3 separate regions of the Homo sapiens genome follow, and all the other regions are linked to region 3. The links are contacts of gene promoters, found by promoter capture Hi-C in human tissues and cell types (Jung and others, 2019). All regions are on one chromosome and are shown on one strand. The core of a region is centred on a gene start or on the middle of the fragment in contact, and the rest is flanking DNA. Distances in the headings are between cores, read along the strand shown.

Region 1 (3,350 bases), core at 132-2,631, 490 kb after region 3:
CTGCCAGCACCTCAGAATTTTCCCCTTCCCTTTCCTTCTCCTTTTCCTATAATTTTTTAGATTAAAAAAAAAAACTTAAGACTTGCTGGGTGTGGTGGCTCACGCCTGTAATGCCAGCACTTTGGGAGGCCGAGGCAGGTGGATCACAAGGTCAGAAGTTCGAGACCAGCCTGGCCAACATGGTGAAACCTCATCTCTACTAAAAATACAAAAATTGGCTGGGCGTGGTGGTGTGAGGATGTAATCCCAGCTACTTGGAAGGCTGGGGCGGGAGGATCGCTTGAACCTGGGAGGTGGAGGTTGCAGTGAGCCAAGATCGCACCACTGTACTCCAGCCTGGGCGACAGGGTAAGACTCTGTTTCAAACAAACAAACAAACAAACAACAAAAAAAAACCCCCACAAAACTGAAGACTCAAGAAGGGGAGTGGGGAGATCATACTTTCTTGAGGCCACACAGGTGGCAGCCAATCTGAGTACTGATACCCACACCTCTGACTCTCAGGCCAGTTTTCTCTCCACAAACCACCAGGCCTGTTTTTCCTGCTTCTGCCCACCAACCCACCCCAAAAATGAGTTTTCCATATAGGAAAGAGAAGAGCCTGGCTTATCTTCTTCAGGAGGTAACTGTGCCTTCCCCAGAGAGCTCAGGTGCCAGGACGTCAGCAGCCCTCAGACAGCAGAGCCAGGAGGGACACGGGGCAGTGGTGACGAAGCTGTTCAGGGCAACTCTGGGCATCCTCCTATTTTCAGAATAACAATCTTCCTGGTGTTCTTAGCAGCATGATTCCTTTTTTTATTATTATTTTTTATTTTTTAGAGACAGGGTATCGCTCTGTCACCCAGGCTGGAGTGCAGTGGCGAGATCACAAGGGAGCACGATTCCTGAACTGGGGGAACAGTGCTGAGTTGTATGGGAAGGTGTGTTAGAACAGCCAGATTCACCTGTGCTGCCCACTGAGCTCTTTCCTTCTCCATCACTCATTCTCCCATAATAGAACATCTCAACCACACGTATCATCAGTACACATCAGGTGATGTTGGCAATGAACGAGTTTTTTTAATTGGAATTTAGAAAATAAAACCACAAACTGGAAGGAGTTGGTTGCTCCTTCCAAAGCAAGCTACTGAGAGGAAAAGAACAGGGACACATCCAGTTAATTAATTCTCCCTAGACGGTGGCAGCTCAAGAGCTCAGCCAAAGAGGTCACTGCACTGAAGCAATGTGAGGTTTCTCTTCTGTTCCACCCACTCAAATGATATTTTCTTATTATCAATCCTGCTCCAGGTGCTGGGCCAGGTTCTGTGAATACAAAAAGAATTAAACTACAACCCTGCCCTCAAGACTTCCTAGTTTTGTGTGGAGGCACCTAAATGAACTTGTCAAACCAACCTGGTGCAGCAGGGCCTGCAAAATGCAGTGACGTCCCGGCCTTCATCAGTCATGGGCCACTCCTCATTCTAAAGTGCCTCGTGAGCACCCTAACCTCTCAGAAGAACGAGTGTTGGGGAAAGAAGAATATCAGAACACTACTAGGGAACATTAAGCTTGGCCCAGCATTCTAGTTAGTCAGTGCACGTAGCATCCATCCTCCAGACATTAAGAATAATCACCACAGGCCTAGAGCAAGCAAATGCCGGCCGACAAGGGAAGCTGGCCTCTTCTGTCAAACAGCAGTATTAGAGGGACTCTCCCCTGAGCTGAGTCTCAAAGCCAGGGTATTTGACTCAAGAAAGGAAGATTTTTGAGATGACTCTTTTCATTAGGTGTTATAATTCAGAGCATGACATCTACAGTTTTAAGTTTTCCACAGTGTTCACTTCCTGAATTAAAATTTGTCAGGACAGGCTGATAACAAGAGTAATGACTGCTCCAAGATAGAGGTAGAGCAGGTACACTTTTCTTTCCAGGTATTTTCTTGCTCCTACTCAGGAAAAACAGCTCCTCTCACAAATGCTGAATTTATAGTAAACTTATGTAGTAAATATTGTCTAAACCAGTTACAAAACAAAAACGCTTCAATCTTGACACAATGAGCAGCTGCAGAAGTCAGAGGAATGCATGACTCAGAGTCCTACATAACTGAAGCCGTAAAAACACTGTTATGAGAGATACAATGTTAGGAGAAAACAGAACAGCCCTCAAGAATTCCTCATTAATTTGATAATGTAATTTAACTGTGAGGTACAAAATAGGAGTGAACATCTCTGGTCTAAGATCCTGGTGGCCTTCCGACTTCATCTTCTCCATCCACTCCGGGGCATCTTTGCTCTTCCTGGAACACACTCAGGCATGCTCCCACCTCAGGGCCTTTGCACTGTTTCCTTGGCCCAGAATTCTCTTCCCCTATGTATCTGCAAGGCTAGCTTCCTCACTTTTTAAGGTCTTTACTCAAAAGTGAACTCTCCATGGCTACCTTAAGAAAAAGTTCAACCCCTCTACCTGGTATTTCCTATCACTTTCCTGCTTTTAATTTTTTCAGGACTAACACACTATACATGTCACTTAGCAAGACTGTTTTAATCTATCCTCCTTCCCCACTACAATCTCAACTCCATGAAGGCAGAGAATTTTGTCTGTTTTGTTCACTGCTGTATCACCTGGCAGAGTGTCAATGCTCTACCAATATTTCCAGAATGAAAGAATGAATGAATTTCAACTAGTGAGCTAAAATCAGAACTGAATGAGAAACTTGGTAAGTAGGAAGGAATCATTCTATCTTCATGTTCACACAGTCAACAATCACAGGAAGAGCCAAACCGACACCAAACTCCTCTGCAAGGAATGCAGAGCCAGACAGACAGATCCTGAGGCCCCATGCTCAGGTGGTGAGGCCAATATCAGGCACTGTCTTTCTCCCCTTATAACCACCAAACACATGCTGCTTCCTGATAGCTCAGTACTTTGCCTCATAAATGTGGAAAACACACTAGAATTCACCTATATAAAGGTACTTCGGAAAAATGTCTTAAGGCAAGTGCAAAAACAAAATCAAATCTAAGTGTCAATTAGTTGCATGCAGGGTGTTAGGAAAAGAATAACAAAACACTACTAGAGAAGATACAAAATAGGCTGGCACTCTAGTGAAGATGGCAATTAGGGGGCTACCAAGGCCATCACTACTTCTACCTAAGGGAGACTTACTTACTTACTTTATATATTTATTTATTTATTTTTTTGAGACAGAGTCTTGCTCTGTCACCCAGACTGGAGTGCAGTGGCACAATCTTGGCTCAATGCATCCTCTGCTTCCTGGGGAGGTGATTCTCCTGCCTCAGCCTTCCATGTAGCTGAGATTACAAGCACGCACCACCACGCCCAGCTAATTTTTGTATTTTTAGTAGAGACGG
Region 2 (3,420 bases), core at 209-2,708, 340 kb after region 3:
TGCCCTCCTCCATTGAGTGTGGTGAGGAGGCCCACAAAGGGCCTAGAAATGTTCATCATGGAGCTTGGGAGAGAGGGAGAGAGGGGCCGCTCAAACTGTGTATGTTGGTATCACCATTATAATTGCCTACACTTTACAAAAAGGCAAAACTGTTCAAAACTGTCACTTTCTGAAAAGGTGACAGAATTCAGAGGTGGAGACTCCACCCAAGTACCGTCAGGCACAGCTGCTGCTGGGAAGCCTCTCCAAAATGAGTTGAAGGCCACAGGCCTTGGATGCTGGGCAGATAGCAGAGACTGCTGGGCACCCCGGTGCCACAGAGTGCAAGAAGGTTCTCCCCCAACAGCCCCTTCCACGAACACCCTGGCACCTGCCCTGCATGGTCCTGCTTCTAGGAACTTTCTTTCTTTTTTTTTTTTTTTTTAGACAGAGTCCTACTCTTGTTGCCCAGGCTGGAGTGCAGTGGCACTGTCTCGGCTCACTGCAACCTCTGCTTCCTGGGTTCAAGCGATTCTCCTGCCTCAGTCTCCCAAGTAGCTGGGATTACAGGTGCCCGCCATCAAGCCCATGTGTCTCTGTGTTGTCATTTAATGTCAGTGCAAGGACTCTGATCAGCTATATTGAAATAATATATTACATATAATAATATTGAAATAGTTATCATGGGAATGTAGAAAATCACTTGTTTTCTTAATCAAAGGTTTAAAATGCTTTTGGAATTATTTTAATAAGTATTATTTTTACCCATTTCAGAGTCTTATAGAGAACAAATCTACAGCAGCCCTGGGGCTCCTCAGGGAGAACAGCGATGGGTATTTTGGGAGGGGCCTCATGGTGGCCCCACAGGCTGAGGAGCGAGCTGTCTGATTAGTGCATTTGGAGAAGGGGTGAGCATTCTCAGCTGAGAGCCTCTTGCTTTTGGGGAGTGTTTTGACTAATAGTGGCCAATTATTCACACCATGATAAAAAATATCAGTCATGATAGATAGCAAGCTCTTCTCGTGTTCACGACTCGGAGTGAGGTAGCGTTCTGATTCTCTTCCCTTTGTTACCAGAAAAGGGTCCCAATCCAGACCCCAAGAGAAGGTTCTTGGATATCACACAAAAAAGAATTCGGGGTGAGTCCATACAGTAAAGTGAAATCAAGTTTATTAGGAAAGTAAAGGAATAAAGAATGGCTGCTCGTGGACTGCTCAGCTACTTGTACTTACTGTTACTTCTTGGTTATGTGCTAAACAAGGGGTGGGTTATTCATGAGTTTTCCAGGAAAGAGGTGGGCATTTCCTGGGACTAAGGGTTCCTCCCCTTTTTAGACCATGAAGGGTAACTTCCTAACATTGCCATGGCATTTGTAAACTGTCATGGCGCTGGCGGGAGGGTCTCTTAGCATGCTAATGCACAAAAATTAATATATAATGAGCCGTGAGGATGACCAGAAATCACTTTCGTCACCATCTTGGTTTTGGTGGGATTCGGCCAGCTTCTTTACAACATGCTATTTTATCAGGAAGGTCTTTGTGACCTGTATCTTGTGCCAACCTCCTATCTCATCCTGTAACTAAGGATGCCTTAACCTCCTGGGAATGCAGCCCAGTAGGTCTCAGCCTTATTTTACCCAGCTCCTGTTCAAGATGGAGTTGCTCTAGTTTGAATGCCTCTGACACCTTGAATTCATTTTTGGGTCTGAAATGGACACTGTGAGCTGGCCAAAGAGGGGAACTGGGTACCTACTTACTGATTGAGTTTCAAAGGAGAGCTCTTAACTTCATGAGAAATGCATCCTAATCTCCCACATTAATGAGATGCTTCCAAGAATGATTATACTCCTTGATTATTGATTAATAGATTGACGCAGCCCAGAATGAGGTCTCTAGGGACACAGTGCAGGGCTCAGATATCTAAGGTCCCGTAACCCCTCTGAGAATGTAGTATCGCAGAAGTGTGTTCTGTTAATCAGGGTGGGCCAAGGGCACAAGTAATCCCCAAAGCTCAGGGGGCAAACACAAAAAGTGGCTCCCTTGAGTTCAGAGGTCAGGTGGCTCTCCTCCTGCAGCAACTCAGGAATCCAGTATGCTTCCCTCTCACAGATCTGCCATCTGGAAGTTATTTGCTAACAGCCCCTGATGAGAGAGCAAAAGTGTGAAGAGCTCACACCTGCTCTAACACGTTGAACTGATAGCAACCATCACTTCCACTCACATCCATATTGGCAAGAACTCAGTCACATGATCTCACCCTAGCAAGGGCTACTGGGAAACGGAGTCTTCCTGTGCACCCAGGAAGAAGAAATGGCGTAGTGAATGGGAAACAATCCCCAGGCCCCGTGTAAGTAGAAAGCAATTGTCTTCATTGTGTTTAATTGTACTAAGGCCTATCAGGAGATTCACAAAGCTTCATAAAACCAACTTTTTTTTTTTTTTTTTTTGAGACAGGGTCGTACTCTGTCATCCAAGCTGGAGTGCAGTGGTGCAATCATGGATCACTGCAGCCTCAACCTCCCAGGCTCAGGTGATCCTCCCACCTCAGCCTCCCAGTAGCTGGGACTACTACGGGTGTGCGCCACGGTGCCTGGCTAATTTTTGTATTTTTTGTAGTGATAGGGGTCTCACTATGTTTCCCAGGCTGGTCTTGAACTCCTGGGCTCACACAATCTACCAGCCTTAGCCTCCCAAAGTGCTGGGATTACAGGTGTGGGCCACTGCACCTAGCCTCAACCCTCTTTGTGTAAGACAAGTAACTTTGCTCAAGATGAATCCTTAGTGGACAAAAATTTCCCTCTTGTCAGTTCTCTGCTTATATAGTTGCTTATTTCTAAGTCTGACTCAGGCAAGAGGTTTGGCCCCCCACAAGTAGAAACTAATGGGAGTGTTGTCATTGGAACATCTGCACGTGAAAATGTGTTGGTGGTAAAGGGATGGGAAACGTGTGTTGCCAAGGAGTTCCCAGCACCTGAAAGAAGCAGAAAGTGTGTGGCAATTAATTGTCCTATAAAGGTTGGAAATTGTATAAAGCAAAAAAATTAAAGTTTAAAAAATTTTAATAATTATTTTAAATACCTGAACAAGTCCCCAGAATAAAAACTTATGGTTGTCTTAAGAAACACCCTTGCAGTAGCAGCCTTTGTTCCTTGGAGAGATTCAACCTGGTCCCAGAGAGTGGCCTGCTTCTCTGTGCTGTGATGCCAACCAGAGATGAAGCTATGGAGAACAAATGATAAAAACTGGTGCCGACGCGGTGGCTCACGCCTGCAATCCCAGCACTTTGGGAGGCCGAGGTGGGTGGATCGCCTGAGGTCAGGAGTTCAAGACCGGCTTGGCCAACATAGTGAAACCCCGTCTCTACTAAAAATACAAAAATTAGCCGGGCGTGGTGGCAGGCACCTGTAATCCCAGATACTTGGGAAGCTGAGGCAGGAGAATC
Region 3 (3,646 bases), core at 472-2,971:
CAGAGGTTGCAGTGAGCCAAGATGGTGCCACTGCACTTCAGGCTAGGCGACAGAGCAAGATGGAGTCTCAAAAAAAAAAAAAAAGAAAGAAAATCAATATATCAAAGAGATATTTGCACTCCTATGCTTATTGTAGCACTGTTCACAACAGTCAAAATATGGAATCAACCAAAATGTTCATCAATGGATGACTGGATAAATAAAATGTAAATATACACAATGAATACTATTCAGCCATAAAAAATAATAAAATCCTATTTGCAACAACATTGATGGAACTGGAGGTCATTATGTTAAGTGAAACAAGCCAGGCAAAGAAAGACAAGCATCACATGATTTCACTCATAAATGGGAAGTTGAAAAGTGGATATCATGAAGATAAGTTGGTGGTTACCAGAGGCCAGGAAGGGTAGCCAGGAGAAGGGGATGAACAGGGTGATTAATAGGTACAAAAATTGGTAGAAGTGCTGGGCAAGGTGTCAAGAGCCCCAGCATCAGAAAGTGGTCGACTTGCTGGTTGGTAAGAAGAATTTATCGACAACAATATAGGTTTGAAAAAGGAAAGTTTTATTAGAACGCTGCAGAAGAGTGCAGCCTCAGCAAGAGAGAACTGAGCATGCCGCGGTGGATTTTTCATGTCCCTTTTCGAATGTCTCATTTTTTGCAAATTCAATCCAAGTTGCGTTCATTTAGCCAGGATCCTTCTAAGCTCATTCAAGAATTTTGGGCTTTAACTATTTCCTTTGATTTAACCTGGTACCAGGTGCCAACTTTAGATAATAGGGATATCTAATTACTTCTAAATTCCTCAGATAAGGGGCCTGCTTGATGGTCACCAGGTGATCTGTGCTCTCCTTAAGAGGGAATAAGACCTAGCGTTGGCAGAGTTCTGTAGGGTGACTATAGTTAACAGTAATCTGTTGTATATTTTAAAATGTTATTATTGAAGAGAGTAACTGGAATGTTCCCAGTATAAAGACAAATGTTTAAGGTGATAGAGATCTCATTTACCCTGATTTAATCATTACACATTATATGAAAGTATCAAAATACCACATGTACCCAGAAAACACATACGTCTCTTACATATCAATAAATACAACTTGAGATTATGATGTAAATACATCTGACCAACTTGGTACTTATTAGACTTATGTGCGCAGCACTGCTCTAGTCCTGTGGGTGCAGCAGCATCAGGATCGTTAAAGAAAACAAACAATGCTGAGAAAAAAACTCACACCCCTGAGACATCCGGGTGTGAATAAATGCGGCAGAGTCGCCCGAGATCGGGAGACCAGGCGTGGGGGAGAGGTCCGGGAGGCCTGGACCAGAGTCCTAACAGACCAGAGGCGAAACGGGAAGGCGCGCCAGAAAAGGAACAACGCAAAGGGAGCAGGCGTGCACGGAGCGCGAACTAAGGAACCCCTCTGACAACCCCAGTCCCTCGGCAGTTCCAGAGACCGGCTCCTCACGGAGGGTGGCGGTAGAGACTGTTAAGCCCCGCGGGCGCCGGGGCAGGCCGGACTGTGCCATTCGTGGGGGGTACCATGTGGGACCGAGCCGCCTCACCCAGGGCTGTCCAGCTAGAAACTCCCCGGTGCCACCCCCGCCTCAGTCCGAGGTAGACTCGGCCGGACGTGACGCAGCGTGAGGCCAAGGCGGCGTGAGTCTGCGCAGTGTGGGGCTGAGGGAGGCCGGACGGCGCGCGTGCGTGCTGGCGTGCGTTCATTTTCAGCCTGGTGTGGGGTGAGTGGTACCCAACGGGCCGGGGCGCCGCGTCCGCAGGAAGAGGCGCGGGGTGCAGGTCAGCGCCAGCGGGGGCGCGGCGCATGTGTGGGCCGTGGCGCTGGGCGGCGTGGGGGTGCTGGACGGTGTCCCTGTGCTGGACGGTGTCCCGCTGGCTCAGAACCGGCGCGGGGCCTGGGTCGGGGCCGCCCTCGCTTCCGGCCTCCCAGTCGGGCCCTGTCGCTGGCGTTGGATTTGACTGACCGCCAGCGTGGTGGCAACGCTGAAGCGTCCAGAATCTTCTGCCTAACCTCTCGCCGGCATGGAACTGGCTAGCCGTTTTATTAAACTCTGTTTTGCGTGGACGGTAAACCCTCCAGATAATCTGTAAATAGGCTAAAAAAAATTCGGAACCTCGTTGAGCTGCTGTCGTTGGCAGTGAGAACTCCGCGCAGAGAGACAGATGTAGTTGGGTTGACTTCAGTGAGGGGATTTCCATCTTTCTCAGTCATTAAAAAAAGTGTTCAGACATTTAACACTGTTGACCCCCACACACAATTTTTTAGTACAGTTATAACTAAGAAAACAAAAATCCCCTCCAAAAAATTACAAGTTAATTGCGAAAGACCACATTTAAATTTTTGCCCATGAAATTCAGTTTAGTCGTTTCTCTGAAACAGTGCTTCAAAAAAGACTGTTTCCCCGCATTGTGTGAAATGCAGGAGACCCACGTACTTGTATTTTTAAAAAACCCATTTGCAACATACTATTAAAGTTGGATTTAAGAGAACATGGTAGAAGAAAATCTAAGCAATACTACACCTTTTAGCACCCTCATTATGTTTTCATCTCAGAGCAATTAAAACTGCTATACAAATCAACGTTAAGATAACTAAACTGCTGCTTTTTTCGTATTCAGTTGTCTATGAAAACCGTTTCCCTAGGAAGTACTTACTCTGCTTGAAAATGCTCCTAAACTTTAAATTTTGGGGTATCTCAGGGTTGCAATGAAAGTTTTTTGAAATCTTTTTTTTTTTTTTTTTTTAAGGCTTGTAAACATATAACATAAAAATGGCTTCCAAAAGAGCTCTGGTCATCCTGGCTAAAGGAGCAGAGGAAATGGAGACGGTCATCCCTGTAGATGTCATGAGGCGAGCTGGGGTAAGTCCCACATCGATTTTTAGCCATTCCTGTTTTAAATGTTTTTGGATTTTTAAATCATTTTGAATAAAATATTCAAAGTGCTCTATGAAATATTTCAAATATACACAAAATTTCAGAGATGACATAAGAATAAATACCTGTTGATCCACTGCTCACATTTAACGCTTGTTAATGTCTTGCCATATTTCCTTCAGACCCATTTCTCTTTTGTTTTGAGCTCTGTCGTCCAGGCTGGAGTGCGATGGCAGGATCTTGGCTCATTTCGGTCTCTGCCTCCTGGGCCCAAACCATCTTCCCACCTCAGCCTCCCAAATAGCTGAGACTACAGATGCGTGCCACCACACCTGGCTAATTTTTGTATGTTTTGTAGAGACAGGGTTTTGCCATGTTGCCCAGGCTGCTCTCCAACTCCTGAGCTCAAGTTGTCCACCCGCCTCAGGCCTCCCAAAGTGTTAGGACTACAGGCGTGAGCCACTGCACTGTCCTTAGACCCATTTCTTTTTTCTTCTTTTTTTTTTTTTTTGAGATGGTGTCTCTCTGTGTCGCTCAGCCTGGAACGCAGTGGTGTGATCTCTGCTCGCTGCAACCTCTGCCTCCCGGGTTCAAGAGATTCTCCTGCCTCACCCTCAGCTGGGATTACAGGTGTCCGCCACCACGCCCGGCTAATTGTATTTTTAGTACAGATGGGGTTTCACCATGTTGGCCAGGTTGGTCTCGAACTCCTGGCTTCAAGTGACCCGCCCGCCTTAGCCTTTTA

What was found. The method cuts DNA at HindIII sites, captures the fragments that hold promoters and counts their contacts. A contact is called where the count stands out against the background at its distance.
Region 1: a fragment that was not itself captured here is called in contact with the fragment with the promoter of PARK7 in region 3 in 3 of the 25 tissues and cell types used here (aorta, lymphoblastoid cells and spleen).
Region 2: a fragment that was not itself captured here is called in contact with the fragment with the promoter of PARK7 in region 3 in 2 of the 25 tissues and cell types used here (heart right ventricle and mesenchymal stem cells).

The regions. Positions count from the first base shown.
Region 1 is chr1:8,454,442-8,457,791 of GRCh38, forward strand. The region is part of intron 11 of RERE (arginine-glutamic acid dipeptide repeats); the gene reads right to left. Among named protein-coding and RNA genes, the nearest start is that of RERE-AS1, 31 kb to the left of the region's middle. The HindIII fragment of the contact is 5,753 bases long and covers 1-3,350 here.
Region 2 is chr1:8,295,254-8,298,673 of GRCh38, forward strand. It overlaps LINC03154 (long intergenic non-protein coding RNA 3154), which reads left to right. Exons shown (of 2, transcript XR_007065454.1): 2 at 1-1,196. Among named protein-coding and RNA genes, the nearest start is that of SLC45A1, 21 kb to the right of the region's middle. The HindIII fragment of the contact is 7,461 bases long and covers 1-3,420 here.
Region 3 is chr1:7,959,990-7,963,635 of GRCh38, forward strand. It overlaps PARK7 (Parkinsonism associated deglycase), which reads left to right and starts at 1,722. Exons shown (of 7, transcript NM_007262.5): 1 at 1,722-1,804; 2 at 2,774-2,886. The coding sequence starts at 2,797. RefSeq lists enhancers at 790-1,573, 1,273-1,372, 1,574-2,357, 1,753-1,802, 2,003-2,052 and 1 more and a silencer at 1,523-1,622. The HindIII fragment of the contact is 29,789 bases long and covers 1-3,646 here.